Regions from separate parts of the Homo sapiens genome. Here region 2 is linked to region 1. The links are contacts of gene promoters, found by promoter capture Hi-C in human tissues and cell types (Jung and others, 2019). All regions are on one chromosome and are shown on one strand. The core of a region is centred on a gene start or on the middle of the fragment in contact, and the rest is flanking DNA. Distances in the headings are between cores, read along the strand shown. Region 1 holds the start of GPR83 (G protein-coupled receptor 83). Region 2 has its middle 43 kb from the start of GPR83.

What was found. The method cuts DNA at HindIII sites, captures the fragments that hold promoters and counts their contacts. A contact is called where the count stands out against the background at its distance.
Region 2: a fragment that was not itself captured here is called in contact with the fragment with the promoter of GPR83 in region 1 in 1 of the 25 tissues and cell types used here (H1 embryonic stem cells).

Annotation. Positions count from the first base shown.
Region 1 is chr11:94,399,689-94,403,172 of GRCh38, forward strand. It overlaps GPR83 (G protein-coupled receptor 83), which reads right to left and starts at 1,731. Exons shown (of 4, transcript NM_016540.4): 1 at 1,173-1,731. The coding sequence starts at 1,559. The HindIII fragment of the contact is 20,224 bases long and covers 1-3,484 here.
Region 2 is chr11:94,356,938-94,360,421 of GRCh38, forward strand. No RefSeq gene overlaps it. Among named protein-coding and RNA genes, the nearest start is that of GPR83, 43 kb to the right of the region's middle. The HindIII fragment of the contact is 3,129 bases long and covers 28-3,156 here.

The DNA.
Region 1 (3,484 bases), core at 481-2,980:
AGATGGCAAGGAGACAGACAGAGAGGGATTAATAGATATTGCTTTAGTAATCACTCAAATGACAAAGTTATTCCATAAAATGAAAAAATATAACACACTAGAGAAACATGCAGTATAACTGTCACTATGGTTGCTCAGTCATCGCCCTTACAGTCCCAAATCATCCATGAGAGCCACACTCCCCGGTCACAGCGGGACACCACCAGCGCTAAGTAGCCAGGGCTTGGGGAAGAATCCCATCAGCTGCCAATGTGCAAATGCCCCCAGCCTGCCCGATTTCTGGGGCCCAAGCCCACCTCCCCTCATTTCTTCCTCAACACAGACCTCAAACACAGCCTCATTATCAACCCACAGAAGGGAAATGCACTTTAAATAAGTGGTCTGGGAAAATGCACTTAATGTTCCATTAACAATTAGCAATTGTTTGATATTTCAGTTGTAGCACAAAGCAGTATCCCATGGGTACGGCTGGGCACTGAACAGGCTGCAATTCAGAGGGAGGGGGACCTGATCATCTCTGCTGACATTTCAGGGGCATTGATTTACTGCTCAATTATCAAGCAAGCCCAGACCCAGTGAGATTAAACAGGAAATGGTCATTCATTTCCAGCTGGCTGCAGACACTCAAACCATTGACCCAATGCCACCGCCGCAGAAGCTCTGGCTGATAAGGCGATGAGACAGAAAAAAGTGGGGAGAAATCAGAGAGTGAGGCAGGGGAGAGAGGAAGAGAGGAGAGGTGGGGAGAGGAGAGGAGAGGAGAGAGAATAGAAAAATAAAATCACAGAGAGACTGACAAGAAGAAAAAGAGATAACAGGTGAGGAGACAGAGACAGATGAATAGGGAGGCTGAAAGACAAAAAAAAAAAAAAAGATGAGGACACTGAGAGATAGAGAAGAGAGACAGAAAGACTTCAGAGAGAGAGACAGAGACTGAAAGAAAGACTAAGAAAAACAGGAGAGATACAAGAACCGAGATGACAGAGGAGGGAGAAAAGAGACTAGGACAGGAAGACAGAGGCAGAGGAGAGGAGAAATGAGGAGGAAGAGAGATGTGGAGAGAGAAGTGGGGACCCACAGGGAGACGCAGAACGGCAGAGGGAGGCCAGAGAACTGAGAGAGGAAAGGGAGACGAAGACAGAAGGTGGGGCGGCAGGCAGCGGGCCCCTTACCAAAGTGAAGGGGGTGTTGAGCAGCGTGATCATTATGTCGGCAACTGCCAGGTTGACGATGAAGAGGCTGGTGGCCGAGTGCATTCGCTGGTTCTTGAAGATGACATGACAGACCAGGACGTTGCCAAAGAGTGAGAAGACAATGATGAAGGAGTAAGCCACAATGAGCAGGGCTTTCACCGTGGGGTTCTGGGACTCAGCGCCGTAGCGCCTCCTGCCCACAAAGTTCTGCCAGTCGGAGAAGGTGTAGTTGTTCCAAGAGAAGAAGTGCGAGGCATTGGGCACGGCCAGGGCCGCCTCCGCGCTCTGCTCGTCGGCCCGGCCCTCGTGGGGCTCGGTGGCTCGCACCAAGGGGAGGAGACAGAGCAGCAAGAGGTGAGGGACCATTTTGCAGGAGCCACCCCTCCCCTGGGAGCCTGCGGGCCGGGCGTCCCCTCCCGCTGGGATCGGAGCGCGCAGCCGGGGTGCGGGGCGCACAGCATACAAGGCCGTCCCGAGGAGCCAGGGAGCCCGGACGCGCGGAGCACCGCGCCGCCCGCCACCAGCCCGCGGTCGGCACGCCAGCTCCGGGTTTGTTGGAGCACTTTTATATCTCTGCTCCCACCAGGCTGCTAGGGAGCGCCTCTGCCTATTGGGCAGCGCGGCGTCTCTCGCGGCGACGGTGACGCGCTCTGGCTCTGACAAGCCTGGCTCCCCCCACCCTACCGGGTGGCGCCGTTGCTGACCCCACGCCCAGCCGTTCCCACTCCCGCCTGAAACTCCTCCGACAGGGCTTCGCTTCGGGGGCTCAGTCCCCAGCGCGTACACACTCGCGTGGTGTCGGCTTAGCCTCTTGTAAAGGAAGCAGGGCAGGCAGGTGGGAGGAAGCCCACAGGGGCACTTGGGATGATGAGGGGGCATGCTGGCAAAGCCGGGTCAGTGACAAGGATATATTCCATTTGTTTCCACCTAAGCCTTAGCCTTGGCACAGTTTCAATATCGAAATGGATCGCTGCGTCCCGGCGGTCCCAGGAAAAAGGCAAACCAAAAAATAGAGACGTTAAGGATTCTCCAAGTCCCCGGAGTATCCAGATACCAGAGGTGCTGGAGGGCTTATTAAAGGATTACAGTTTCTTTGACAGCCCCCAGGAATGCAATCTGGGGAGCTTTGTTTTTCAAGGAAACTCTTCAAAGCAGTTCGGATACCATCAAAGAAGCGAAGGAAAAGAGAAGTTTAGCTGTGTGCTCACCTCTTGGGTAACTTGAATTTTTCTGCCATGGAAGTCCTTGAAGCTATATCTTTAAGGGATATTATGACCCATGCTGTTTTTCCTTCCCCATCTACTTCTTCAGGAAACCTTGCTATCCTGCTCACCCGTTTTCACTTCCACTGTGAAAACTCTCCCAGTCACTGGGTCCTCTGCCACCCACAAGCCTGTAGTAAAGACCATGGGCTCTGTAATTAGGGTTTAATCCCAGCTTTGTCACTTCCTAGCTGTGAAATCTTGGGCAAGCCATTTAACATTTTTGGCCTTGGTTAAAAGGCTTTCTTTTCCTAAATGTGAGGTTTTCAGAGACCCCTGTATACATCTCTCACTGCATTGCCCTCTGGTGCAAGACATGCAATATCTGGTTGACTACTGGTAACCACCCCTGACCCCCAACAGGAAACACCATGTAGATTCTTTACATTGTGTCAACGTGCCCTGGGGAGCAATGTCCTTGGGCTGGGACCCAAACAATGACTCAAACCTAGGTATTACTCTTGTCTCCAGTTTTCCACTTCACATGTACTCTTCAAGCAACTGTGTCTGGAGGAAAGGATGGCTAGCAGATAACCCTCAATTATACTGAAGGACCTGGCAGGTCTCACAGGATTAAATGGCTGAAATAGGGGATTATGTGACAGATCCTAGAAGGGACAAGGTGCTAGGCCGATGAAATAATACATCTTTAGCTCCAGGAAATAAACCAAGAGACTGCCTGTAAACACTGAAAGCTTGGGGGCCGGGCGCGGTGGCTCACGCCTGCAATCCCAGCACTTTGGGAGGTCGAGGCGGGCGGATCCACGAGGTAGGAGACCGAGACCATCCTGGCTAACACGGTGAAACCCCATCTCTACTAAAAATACAAAAAATTAGCTGGGCGTGGTGGCAAGCGCCTGTAGTCCCAGCTACTCAGGAGGCTGAGGCAGGAGAATGGCGTGAACCCGGGAGGCGGAGCTTGCAGTGAGCCGAGATCGCGCCACTGCACTCCAGCCTGGGCGACAGAGCGAGACTCCGTCTCAAAAAGAAAAAAGCTTAGGTAGACTTGCTGCTCCATCAAGATGACCT
Region 2 (3,484 bases), core at 342-2,841, 43 kb before region 1:
ATGGTTAATATTCGGTGTCAGCTTGATTGAGGGGAGGCTAGATGGCTGGTAAAGTATTATCTCGGGTATGCTTGGGAGAGTGTTTCCAGGGGAGACTGACATTTTAGTCAGTGGACTGGGAAAGGAAGACCCATCCTCAATGAGGGTGGGCACCATCCAATCAGCTGCAAGCACAGCTAGAATAAAGCAGGTGGAAAAAGGTGGGATAAGTTTGCTTCCTGAGGCTTCTGGCTCTCTTTCTTCTTCTTGAGCTGGACACTTGCTTCTGCTCTTCTTAGACATCAGACTCCAGATTTTTCAACCTTTGGACTCTGGGACTTGCACCAGTGGCTTCCTGGGGTCTCTCTAGCTTTTGGCCACAGACTGAAGGCTGCACTGTCGGCTTTCCTGGGTGTGAGGTTTTCATAATTGGACTGAGCCACTACCAGCTTCTTTCTTTCCCCATGCAGATGGCGTATCATGGGATTTCATTTTGTAACTGTGTGAGCCAATTCTCCCTAATAAATTCCCTTTTATATATGCATATATCCTATAGGTTCTGTCCTTCTGAAGAACTCTAACACATGGTGGAAAAACCTGAGAAACAGTAACTTGGCCAGATTTTAACATCAGTAGTGACAATTCATGTTTTGATATAATGTGATAAAAATAGCACTTTACTTCTGTGGTCTTTATCCCCCAAAAATCCAAAACCCCACCTAATCATGAGAAAAAAATCACACAAATCTCAGTTGAAGGACGGTCTTCAAAATGTCTGACCAGTACACCTTCAGACTGTTGAGGTCATCAAAAGCAAGGAGAGGCGGAGAAACTATCACAGCTGAGAGGAGCTTAAGGATACATGAAGATTGAAATATAATGAAATGAAATGAAATAAAATAAGATAAAATGAAATGTGATGGACTGGAGGGAATCCTGAAACAGGAAAAGTACCTTAGGTAAAACCTAAGGAAATCTGAATAAAGCATGGACTTTAGTTAATAGTAATGTGTCAGTATTGGTTCAATATTTTGACAAATATGTCATACCAATGTTAGATATTTATAATAAGAAAAATTAGATATGGGATATAGGGAACTCTCTGTACTGCCTTTGCAAATTTTCTGTATGTATAAAACTATTTTAAAAGATAGAAGCTTATTTTTAAAAGTCATATAGTCTGTCCACCTTCATCTAGGTATGGGAAAAGATTACAGAATGAACAAATTTTTAAATTACGATGCAGTCAAAAAATAAAGCTTGATGAAATCACAAAACAATTCATCTAAAATTCAGGGCCCCTGACAGAGGCAAATGTCAACTTATTCATCATAATACCTGTGCAAACATAGCACTTCCACAGTACTTCTATAAAAAACAATTCTTGCCAAATATGAGCTCATAGGCAAAAATTACAAAACACACATGGAAATTCACCTTCATAAATGAGAGTTAACAGTTACAACAAACTGGAAAATTTGAGGTCAAGAAATCATAGAAAATAGTTCAATCTCTGAAGGACTTAGCAAATGACTTACCTGTTCAAAGACATAAAAAGAAGGAATAGCGTTCACAATACAAGGAGAGACTATTAAGAGAAAAAAGCAGACATATTTCAAAAAGGAATATGCAGTCACACTAGGAATATAAGAAAACAGTCATTTGGGCCAGGGACAGTAGCTCACGCCTGTAATCCCAGCACTTTAGGAAGCTGAAGCAGGTAGTGAGTCACTTGAGGCCAGGAGTTAGAGACCAGCCTGGGCAAAATGGCAAGACCTCATCTTTACAAAAAATACAAAAGTCAGGATTCCCTCCAAGATGGCCAAATAGGAACAGCTCCAGTCTACAGCTCCCAGCATGAGTGACACAGAAGATGGGTGAATTCTGCATTTCCAACTGAGGTACAAGGTTCATCTCACTGGGACTTGTTGGACAGTGGATGCAGCCCACAGAGTGGGAGCTGAAACAGGGTGGGGCATCACCTCACCTGGGAGGCACAAGGGGTCAGGGAATTCCCTTTCCTAGCTAAGGGAAGCCATGACAGACATTACCCAGAAAATCGGGACACTCCCACCCTAATACTGCACTTTTCCAATGGTCTTAGCAAATGGCACACCAGGAGATTATATCCCGCACCTGGCTTGGAGAGTCCCATGACGACAGACCCTTGCTCACTGCTACCACAGCAGTCTGAGATCCAACTGCAAGGCAACAAGGAGGCTGGGAGAGGGGCATCCGCCATTGCTGAGACTTGACTAGGTAAACAAAGTGACAGGAAGCTCGAACTGGGTGGAGCCAACCACAGCTCAAGGATGCCTGCCTGCCTCTGTAGACTCCACATCTAGGGACAGGGCATAGCTGAAGAAAAGGCAGCAGAAACTTCTGCAGACTTAAACATCCCTGTCTGACAGCTTTGAAGAGAGTAGTGATTCTCCCAGCATGGAGTTTGAGACCTGATAACGGAGAGACTGCCTCCTCAAGTGGGTCCCAGACCCCCAAGTAGCCTAACTGGGAGACACCTCCCAGTAGGGGCCGACTGACACCTCATACAGCTGGATGCCCCTCTGAGACGAAGTTTCCAGAGGAAGGATCAGAAAGCAACACTTGCTGTTCTGCAGTATTCACTGTTCTGCAGCCCCTGCTGGTGATACCCAGGCAAACAGGGTCTGGAGTGGACCTCTAGCAAACTCCAAGAGACCTGCAGCTGAGGGTCCTGAGTGTTAGAAGGAAAACTAACAAACAGAGAGGAATAACATCACAGCAACAAAAAGGACATCCACACCAAAACCCCATCTGTAGGTCACCATCATCAAAGATGAAAGGTAGATAAAACCACAAAGATGGGGAGAAAGCAGAGCAGAAAAGTTGAAAATTCTGAAAATCAGAGCTCCTCTTCTCCTCCAAAGGAACACAGCTCCTCACCAGCAATGGAACAAAGCTGGATGGAGAATAACTTTGATGAGCTGACAGAAGTAGGCTTCAGAAGATTGGTAATAACAAACCTCTCTGAGCTAAAGGAGGATGTTCAAACACATCACAAAGAAGCTAAAAACCTTGAAAAAAGATGAGATGAATGGTTAACTAGAATAAACAGCATAGAGAAGACCTTAAATGACCTGATGGAGCTGAAAACCATGGCAGGAGAACTATGTGATGCATGCACAAGCTTCAGTAGCTGATTCGATCAAGCTTCAGTAGCCGATTCGATTCGATGAAAGAAAGGGTATCAGCAACTGAAGATCAAATGAATGAAATGAAGTGAGAGGAGAAGTTTAGAGAAAAAAAGAGTAAAAAGAAACAAACAAAGCCTCCAAGAAACATGAGTCTATGTGAAAAGACCAAATCTACATCGATTGGTGTACCTGAAAGTGATGGGGGGAATGGAACCAAGCTAGAAAACACTCTTCAGGATATTATCCAGGAGAACTTCCCAACCTAGTGAAGAAGGCCAACATTCAACTTCAGGAAATACAGAGAATGCCACAAAGATACTCCTCAAGAAGAG